Linked DNA regions of Homo sapiens: all the other regions are linked to region 2. Evidence: promoter capture Hi-C in 16 types of primary human blood cells and fetal thymus (Javierre and others, 2016). All regions are on one chromosome and are shown on one strand. Each heading gives the region's core, a stretch centred on a gene start or on the middle of the fragment in contact. The rest is flanking DNA. Distances are from core to core; before and after follow the strand shown.

Region 1 (3,180 bases), core at 553-3,052, 110 kb before region 2:
AAACCTAACACAATACAACGGAACAGAAGATGCCTGTATGAAGAAATAAGCAGGAAAACTAATCAGGGCATGTCTGCGATTCCCTCCTCTTATTTCAGGGCTTTGAATTTTTCACAGCAAGGGTGAAGGCACAATCTAGGGGTGTTGGCTTCACTCCTGTGCAAAGCGGCCCACAAAACAGCAACCACGGAAAAAGCCAATGGGATGAGAATTGGACTTCCAGACATCTCTCCGTGTGAAATGCATTCTGAGATTATGAGTTTTCAACAAGCTGAGAGCGGATGTGACAACGGGCCCTGATACAAGAGCCCCCTCCTCCCGTTCCGTGCCGTCATGTTCTTTCCAAGAGGCTGCAACTCAAATCTTCTCTAGTGAAAACAGCACAGAAGGTTCTTCTGGCTGCTGGAGAGTCTTCCAGGACACCATGACAAGCCGACGTGGCCTCCACGTCTCTTTGGCAGAGTCCTATATTTCTCAGTATGGTGGTGACCCGGGGACCCAGGGAGCAGAGCAGATGGCTGAAACATCCACACGTAGCCTACTGTGAATACAAACGATACTTCTGCAGGAGGGGACACTTAGCACTTTTGGTGGAATTCTGTAATATAGCCAACCCACCCCAAAAAAATGCAAAGGGAACACTGAACTTGGCACACAAGCAGGAGAGAGGGGATACTGTCTTTTAACTCTTCTCCTAATGACATCAGGTCATATAAGGCTATGTCAAGGAAACGGCTTCCACTTTTCTTTGGCAAAGGCCTCGATAAGTGACAGAAAGTAGGGACTGCCCCCCGAAATAAGGCTACCACTGCACAACTGTTACCAAAGATTAAACACCCCCAAAGGAAGAAGCACAGAGGTCAACTGCTGAACAATTTAAGCTGATTGGATGGGTATGCTTGAGGCTAACCAGTTCTGCAAAGGGAAACACACGGTTTCGAAGCACGGGGATAAGTAGACGTTACCTTGTGTCTTCTGCACATCTTGCATCTTCCTTCCCTGACAGCTGGTCAGAAATAGGGGCATCAGGCCATTTCCCTGTTTCCCAACAGGGTAATAGCCAACCTACTTCCAGAGAAGATTTGGAAAAAGAGACAACTAAGCTAGTGAAATAGAATAGTTTTTTCTCATCAAAACATGATTTATTAATTTTAAGCAAGAGTAAGCATATGTGATAGTGGCCAGCTTGGGGATAGAACTCTTCCTGGTTGATGCACAGTTCAGCACCTGTTGGGTCTTGGCTGTTGGGATGATAATTCTTTTGGGTGAGGGGAACAGCCGTGGTCAAGGCTGCCTGCACCCCCATCCAGGCACAGGACCCTGGGCAAAGTCTCAAAAGAGGTAGTGTTTTTACTTTCGCACCAACAATACAACATAAGTATTGGGTACAAAAGAGGAGATTTCCTTCCCCTCTACCTCAACGGGCAAAAGGCCTTCCATCTTCAGAAGAGGCTTGTGAGGACCATCGGTTGATGACCTCCTAGTGAATTCTGGCTCCCATTCAGAGCACAGAGAAACCCACAAAAGGGGCCTGTGGCTCTGGTTCCAGGTCTCAAGGGTACAGCTTGGTTACATCCCCAGGCCCCAGGCTGATTCTCCTGCCATCATACTGCAAGCCTTCCTGTACCACTTTGACCCAGGTTGAGGTCTGGCGGAAAATAACCTCAAAGGCAATTAATACAAAAAGCTTCCTGTAAGCTAAGAGGGGTTATCAACTATATGTACTTATTTTTCCAGAGATTGAAGAGAGAAGAGAACGAGCCAAGGCTTGGTTTTGTTTTATGTTGGTGGCACATGTAGACACTTTGGCATAACGAACCCCATAGAGCCTGCAGCCCAATCCACTCTGTTTTGGTTTAGAATGAAGTTTTTTTTTTAATTATTTTTCTTGGAAGTAGGGAGGATTTGAAAGCTTGAAAATCAAGAATCAAAAGACAGTGAATCTAGAAGGCATCTGGGAGCAGAACAGAGATTGAAGACGGGTGGGCACAGGAGAAAGCGCCACCATCGATCCCGGCTGCTGCCCTGGAAATGTGATTTTCTTAATAGCTGAGTTCATGGTTGCTTGAGGTCAGGCCTGGCTATTCATTTCCAGCGATGTCTGACCAGAGAGGACTCATCATTGACGACCTCAGGGTCACGGGGGCGACGCTGACACCGGAACGGCAGCAGCAGCAGGACGATTAAGACAAGGAGGATGGCTCCACAGACGCTCATGAGCGCATAGGACACAATCCACAAAATGGGCTCGCTCAAAGACTGAGCGGGGACACAGTTGCTGGCTACATCCTCTGTTGAGAAAGGCCCGGAAATTTCAGACACTGCAGCACCTGCAATTTCTGGGGAGACAGAAAGGGAAAATCCACAGCTGTGAAATGAGCGGTCCACCTCTCACATTGGACACAGACAGAACCCCTTGGTTTATTAAACCACAGTTAAAGTCCACTGAGGTCCCAGTGGCTTAGACAGCTCAGGAAGCACTGAGTGGGGTCACGGCTCAGCGTGCCTTTGGGGGTCCAGTCCCTGCAAACTGGAACGACGGCATGTTTTAAGGTGTGTGGGTACCGAGCCTAGGTGTGGAGGGGAACTGCAGCAGGGCACATATGGAAGCACCCTGTGCTTCATGGAATGCCAGCGACACTGCGGTACTACACAGGTGAGAGTGCAGGTCAGCACCTGGTCATGACAGCTGTGTGGGTTGTGCTTCCTCAGTGGAGATGAAAAAAGAGGAGAAAGAGAAGGAGAATTTACCGCAGAAAGCTCAGCTGGACCTGCCTACGTCATGGGGAATTTTCCCCAGTGGAGTCAACCTGAGTTCACTCCCTACCATGGATTCTACAACAGATAGGGACCTCATATCAACCTGACTCATAGTCTTAGTGGGTTGTGAGACCTCCGGGGGTCAGGCTGGCTTGAGAGACCCTCCCTGCCCCACTCTTATCCTAGGTCTCATCAACAGCCAGGAGCAGTAAGTGAATGCAACACCTAATTCATGACATCACTGGTGACAAAGAGAAACAGTTAAAATTCACCCGGTGACTTCTGCTAGAGACTCTTGAATAACTTCAAACCAAGAAGGAAGTTGAGATGATTTCTTAAAGCCGGTTTGTGGATTATCTGTAGACTTCCTTTGCCTACACTAGGCTTCTCTGCCCCTTTCAGGAATATGGGATCTTAAGC
Region 2 (3,395 bases), core at 880-3,379:
CTCATCATTTTAAAATAAAGGTCATTGAATTAATTAACAGGCAAGTTATTATTTATAAAAGCTTTTTTTTTTTGATTGCCAAAGTTAAGTATTTTTTAGTCCTTCTTCAGGCTTCTCCCTTTCCCCTTTGCTCTGGAGGGAGGGTTTCAGGGCTTCTTTTATCATAGCCCTCAGACCACCCACATTTACTTTTAGTAGAGAGAATTCCCTCGCATCAAAGCACACATGTCCAATGGGGATTCATTCAAGGCCTGTTCCAAAAGATTCTCTGCAGGTCACAGAAGAGGTTCTTCCTCAATATCTTGTCATATTTCCAAGGTTCTCAGCACCAGGCACATGTTCCCACGTGTTGGCTGCACCAAGACCACATCTTACAGCCAAGTTAAGCTCCCTCAGCTGATGGGGATTCCTATTCCCTCCCTCTAACCATCCACTCCTGGAGATGGCAAAGATCACTCACGTGGCTTCCCATGACTTAGACGAAAGGCAACTAGAATCAAAGTTTGAATATACGCTTTTGAAGGTTTTTTTTTCCCCCTAAACTAATTAAACAACTACAGAAGTTATTCGGCAGTTTCCTTTTTTAAAAGAATTAGCATGGCATGTCTTTCCTCTTAAAGTCTTGAATAATTTAATGAGAATTATACAAAAGTCATGAGTATGTTCTATTTATGGGGGAATCATAGCTGAATCAAAACCCAAATGACAATGTTAAAAATAAAAATAAACTATCTTCAAATAGTGCATTCAATTGAGCAAAGGACTTCAAATCCCACTTGGATTAGACAGTTTGAAAGTAGGAGGGGGCAGATCAATTGGGATTTTTTTTTTTTTTTTTTCAGATCACTGTGCTTGGGAACATTTGTTTCTTGCTACAAAAAGTGTTAGTAAATGAACATCAGAGTAAGAGAAAAGGAAAGCTGTTTGATTTTATTTTTGTGTTGTAATCGGGATACCACTTGGTCCCCGGACACCTCACTCAGCCCCTGTTTTTTTCCCGGTAGCTGGAATGCTTTTCACACTCTGCACACCCGCGTGTAGATGCATCGCTCCGTGCAGAGGGGCAGGGCCGCCGGATGAGCGAGGACACAGCTGACAAACCAACTCCGAGAAAGGAAAGCGGGCGCAGGGGAGACGCTGCTCCTTCCTCAGAGCAGCAAGCGAGCCACTTCTTAACCGGGTTGCTTTTAGCTGAGCTCATGCATAAATCCTTTTTAAAGGGTACTGCGCCTTTGGAAGCCGGCCACGAGCCTCTTTAGCAATGAGACAGCATGGTGGTGGGGTGGGGGGGGGGCGGGGGGGAGGGAGGGTATGAACACGAGGTGATTTTCCCCATAATAGCCCGTCGCCCAAGGCCCACCGCTCCGTCTCCCGCTGGAAGTAGGTGTCGCCCGCAAGAAGGAAATCACGTTATTGGAGGCGGCAAGTTCCAGGTCTCCTCTCCCGCCCAGCCCCGCGGAGGGGGAGCTCACAAGTTCTGAAACACTCGCGCACACCCCTCAGTGCGCCCCGGGCGGGGGCTGCCGTCCTCCGCGACTCAAGAGCGAGCGCCCCCGCTCCCCGGCCCACCCGAGCCCCTCTGCGTTCCCCGCTCTTCTGTGCGGGGACAGCTGCTGCTTTGGGGGCGACGCTAAGCCGCGTGGAGGCGTCTCTGGACAGCCCCCTCCCTCCAACGAGCCCGAAAAGCCCGCGGCAGCAGCCGGGGGTCCCTACCTTCTGCGGGGGGGTCCCGATCAGCATCTCCAGGTAGTAGCCGCGGCCAGAGTCCCCCTGCAGGTTGTCTACCATGGCCAAGAAGTTGGCGGCGCCCGCGGGGGACGCCAGGGCAGGCTCCAGGGCGAGCGCCAAGCCGTCGGCGTGGCGCTCGGCAGGGGTCCCGGGTCCCGGGGTGGGCGCAACTACGCGGTTCGTGGCCGCGGCCACCCGGAGGGGCAGCGTGAAGGGCGCGGGGGCCAGCTCCGGGGCGGCGCGCAGGAGCCACTGGGCCAGCAGAGGCAGCAGCAGCGCCCGGGCCAGTGCGCCCATGCCCACGGCGGGGCCCGGGGGGCGCGCCCAGCCTAGCCGGTCCCGTCCCGTCCGGCAGCCGCGGCTCAGCGACTCGGCCGGCGCGCGGGGCTGCGGGCAGGGATGGGCGCGCACCGGGACCGGCGGCGGCGGGGAGGACGGGAGGAGGGCCCAGGGGAGGAGGCTCGCGGGAGGGGAGGAGGCTCGCGGGAGGGGAGAAGGCGGAGGCCGGGGAGGCGGGCGCGGAGGCGCAGAGCCGCCCCAGCCCGCGCCGCCAAGTTGGGCAAGTTCTTCTCCGCTGCCCCCTCTGGCGGCCGCGACTGCCCCGCAGCGGCCCAGCCCCTCCCCCGCGGCCAAGGTCACAGCGGGGCTCGGGGGGCGCCGGGGTCCACCTGCGCCTGCCCTCCCCACCCTCGCCGGGCTCAGGCCGCGCCTCTTCCCCGGGAAACTCGAGTCCCGAATTTCCTCGGAAAGCGCCCCAGCGGCCACGGCCAACGGATGTGACGAGGCTCATCTGATACCGGGGGGAAAGTTTCGAGAACCCTTAAAGGGGCAGCGAGGGCCTGAACTAGGGCCCCGGCCCCGCGCGCTTGGGGGTCCGCGGGGGTCTATTCGCCCGGCAGTGGCGGGAGCTTCCGGGGGTGACTCGGAGGTCAGCGAGGAGAGCGGTGGATCGGGAAGGAGCCTGGAGCCTCGCGCGCCTTTCCGAGCCTGCGCCTCCCCTCGCCAAGCTCCTCCGCCTCATTTCAGTCGCCGGGTCTGGCTGCTTTCGAGGCGTTTCCCGTCCGCTGCCCCCGAGCCCCCGCCCTCAGTCCAGCCCGTTCCCCGGCCTCATCCCCCGGCGGCCCCTGGGTGGTTTTAAAGAGGTCTCAGTGGAGGCTGGGAGGGTGGAGGGTGGAAGGAGGCAGAGGAGGATGCGAGAGCTTTGGAGAATTTTCCCTAAAAATCGGGGGAGGTGGGGGGCGTGGCTGCTGCTGGCGCCTGGCCCCAGCCTCATTGCCCCCCCTTACTCCCTCTGTTGCCCACAGCTAGCTGCGAAGCTGGGCTTCACCCCAGCCACCTTCCCCCCACCCCCGCCCCCTTCGCCCCCTCCGCCGCGCCCCTGTCCCTAATGCAGGTCAGATGCTACTGGAACCCGCTGCCTCCCCTGGCACCCAGCCCTCAGGCCACCTAGTAAGTTGCTGTCAGGATCCCAAATCAGGGCCACGAGTCCACCCTGCTGTGATCCCTGCCCTTCTCCCCCACCTCCCCTTCTATCCCCAGCCAGCTCTCTGCGGACTGTCTAATTAATACTCGTTTAGCCATAGACGCCAAGACGCAGAAATGCGTTGAGTAATGCAAGCAACGAGGGTTATTTTATTTTAGATACTAAAGGCAGGGGGGACAATTAG
Region 3 (3,265 bases), core at 187-2,686, 65 kb before region 2:
TACTAAAACAGGCAGCAGGTCAGATTTGGCTCATGGGCTAGAGTTTGCCAACTCCTGGTGTATTAGTCTGTTTTTACACTGTGATAAAGGCATACCTAAGACTGGGTAATTTATAAAGAGAAAGAAGTTTAATGGGCTCACAATTCTACGTGGCTGGGGAGGCCTCACAATCATGGTGGAAGGTGAAAGGCATGTCTTACATGGGGAAGGGAAGAGAGAAATGAAAGCCAGTGAAAGGGATTTCCCCTTATAAAACCATCAGATCTCGTAAAACTTATTCACTGCCACGAAGACAGTGTATGGGGAAAAACCGCCCCCTTGATTCAATTATCTCCCACTGGGTCCCTCCCACAATACATGGTAATTATGGGAGCTACAATTCAAGATGAGATTTGAGTGGGGTCACAGCCAAACCATACTACCTGGTCTGGTAGAGTAATCGTTTGTTGTTGCTGAGATGGAGTCTCGCTATGTCACCAAGGCTGGAGTGCAATGCTGCCATCTCAGCTCACTGCAACCTCCGCCTCCTGGGTTCAAGCGATTCTGCTGCCTCAGCCTCCCTAATAGCTGGGATTACAGGCGCATGCCACCATGCCCAGCTAATTTTTGTATTTTTAGTAGAGATGGGGTTTCACTATGTTGGTCAGGCTGGTCTCAAACTCCTGAACTCAGGTGATCCACCTGCTTCAGCCTCCCAAAGTGCTGGGATTACAGGCGTGAGCCACCTTGCCCAGCCCTGGTAGAGTAATTGTATCTTTCCTAAACAGTCTAAAATGCTATGACTTCCTTTTGAAAAGTTTAGTTTCACTCTGTCCAGGCTATAGAAAACTCTGTAGAATTTGTAGTGTTAGTAAGAACCTGAACCAGCCTGCATATCTATTTAGCATGTCTTCTCTAGTTTCCTGCTCAGGTTGCTGGTCTCCTTACAGAGGGAGCACTCTGGATATTTTGGTGTCATTTCCAGAGACAGCAGAGGCAGCTGGAGTTATACTGCCTGGGTTCAAATATGAGTTCAATCCCTTATTAGCTGTGTGACCCAGGGCCAAGTTATTTATTTCTCTATGCCTCGGTTTCCTCAACTAAAAAATGGTGATAATATAATACCATCCCTCGTGAAGTTAATTATGCAGATTAAAAGAGTTAATATTGTAAAGCATGTAGAACAAAAGCTTGGAACACAGGAGATATGCCACAAAATAGCTGCTATTATTATAATTAATCATTTGCTGCCTTTTTTCAGGCTATGAGTTATTATTAGAAAATTCAAGTCTGGTAATCCCAGCACTTTGGGAGGCGAGGCAGGTGGATCATGAGGTCAGGAGATCGAGACTATCCTGGCTAACACGGTGAAACCCCGTCTCTACTGAAAATACAAAAAATTAGCCAAGTGTGGTGGCGGGCGCCTGTAGTCCCAGCTACTCGGGAGGCTGAGGCAGGAGAATGGCATGAACCCGGGAGGTGGAGCTTGCAGTGAGCCGATATCGTGCCACTGCACTCCAGCCTGGGCAACAGAGCGAGACTCTGTCTCAAAAAAAAAAAAAAAAAATTCAAGTCTGTTAGGCCATGTTTGCATTGCTATAAAGGAATACCCAAGGGTGAATAATTCATAAGGAAAAGAGGTATGATTTTGGCTCATGGTTCTGTAGGCTGTGCATGAAGCATGTTGCTGGCATCTGCTTCTGGTGAGGCCTCAGGAAGCTTCCACTCAAGGTGGAGGGCGAAGGGGGACACAGTACATTACATGGTGAGAGCTGGGGCAAGAGAGAGAGGAGGAGGTGCCTGGCTCCTTTAAACAACCAGCTCTCATGTGAACTAACGGAGCAAGAACTCACTCATCACCTTGATGAGAGCAACAAGCCATTCATGAGGGATCTGTCCCCATGACCCAAATGCCTCCACTGAGGCCCCAGGTCCAACACTGGGAATCACATTTCAACATGAGATTTGCACCCAAAGCATATCATCAGGATGTTTTTGTTTGTTTGTTTGTTTTCTGGAAAATGCTCCTATAGAGCTACTCTTACTGAATCTAAAGCTGTCTCATTCTAAAGTCCAACCACCCCATGAAAGGAGCAAGTGTGTGTGGGGTGTCTCAGCTAAGGAGGTCAAGGCGAGGTGGTGACGCTTCAAGCTCTTGTGCAACCGGTGTCTAAACGGCAGAGTTCCTCTCTGCCCTGCACCAGCGCTGTCCAACAGAACCTCCTGTGACGACAGAAATATCCTGCCCAATACGCTGGCCGCTTGTGACTAATGAACACTTGAAATGCGATTATAGTGCAACTGAAAGACCGAACTTCTATTTAACATTCATTTAAATTTAAATAGCCACATGTGACTTGTGGCTAGCCTTGTAGAAAGCACAGTCCTAGATAATGTTAAAAAAAAAAAAAAAAAGGTAATTCTCAGTTCATATTCATATTCTCTGGGTTCCTTGAACTAAACCTCTGAGTAAAACCCCAGAGAAGAATCATTCATAAGTGACTCTAGGGGTTATTATTAGCGTAGAGTTTCCAGCACTTTAAATGAAAAACATGCCTTCATCTTCATTTTCTAACGTCCCACCTCTTGCGACTAAAATGCTTTGGCTCTCAATTGCTCTGCACAATAATTAAATACATGGAGCAAGAAACCTGGATGGGCTTCTCCTTGGCAATGTCCATTCTGGGTGCTCAGAAACAGCAATCAATCAGGGATGTGGGTGGCCAGGAAAAAGCCTGCTCACAGTAATAAAAACACTTTGAACCAAATTCAGAAGATGTTCTGCCTCTGATAAGAGTGCTCAGGGAATGCAGGATTAAAAAGTGAAATCAATTGAACTGAGGGGAAAAGAGCTACAGAACGTTTTATTATTTCAAAAGAAACCTGCTGTTGGTTGCAGAGAACACGAAAAGAGAAGGTGGATGTGCAGAATTCTAGAGTTCAATCCTTGGGTCAGCTCTGGTTCTCCTAAGCCATTCGACCCAGGGAATGCTGAGTCTCCTAAAGAATTCTGCTCAGGACTTCCCTGGGGCTCTCAGGGTCTGAAATCTACCCGTGGGCTTACTGTCCTGGCCCAGGTGACCGGATGCCCCTCTTAATCTTCTGTGATTCTCGAAGTCACCAGACCTGAATGCATGAGACCCCCTGAGGTTCAGGGTCAGCTCAGCCTGCCCAGCCTGGCGGTTCATCAACATCCTCAATAACGTTAAATGCTCACAGGCTCCAAAACAGCAAGTCCCCTTCTACTAGGCAAATGATGGACATGCTTGAGAAATGATCTCAATAA

What was found. The method cuts DNA at HindIII sites, captures the fragments that hold promoters and counts their contacts. A CHiCAGO score of 5 or more calls a contact.
Region 1: a fragment that was not itself captured here is called in contact with the fragment with the promoter of BACE2 in region 2 in 1 of 17 cell types (total B cells); the score reaches 5.7 in total B cells.
Region 3: a contact is called between a fragment that was not itself captured here and the fragment with the promoter of BACE2 in region 2, in 2 of 17 cell types (naive B cells and total B cells). The highest score is 5.4, in naive B cells.

Annotation. Positions count from the first base shown.
Region 1 is chr21:41,274,530-41,277,709 of GRCh38, reverse strand. BACE2 (beta-secretase 2) reads right to left here. Exons shown (of 9, transcript NM_012105.5): 9 at 1-2,339. The coding sequence ends at 2,086. Among named protein-coding and RNA genes, the nearest start is that of FAM3B, 41 kb to the left of the region's middle. RefSeq lists an enhancer at 1,938-3,137. The HindIII fragment of the contact is 225 bases long and covers 1,690-1,914 here.
Region 2 is chr21:41,166,894-41,170,288 of GRCh38, reverse strand. BACE2 (beta-secretase 2) reads right to left here and starts at 2,129. Exons shown (of 9, transcript NM_012105.5): 1 at 1,714-2,129. The coding sequence starts at 2,025. MIR3197 (microRNA 3197) reads right to left here and starts at 2,732; the gene lies at 2,660-2,732. RefSeq lists a silencer at 2,121-2,570. The HindIII fragment of the contact is 3,467 bases long and covers 64-3,395 here.
Region 3 is chr21:41,231,150-41,234,414 of GRCh38, reverse strand. All of the region lies in intron 2 of BACE2 (beta-secretase 2), which reads right to left. Among named protein-coding and RNA genes, the nearest start is that of PLAC4, 48 kb to the right of the region's middle. The HindIII fragment of the contact is 529 bases long and covers 1,172-1,700 here.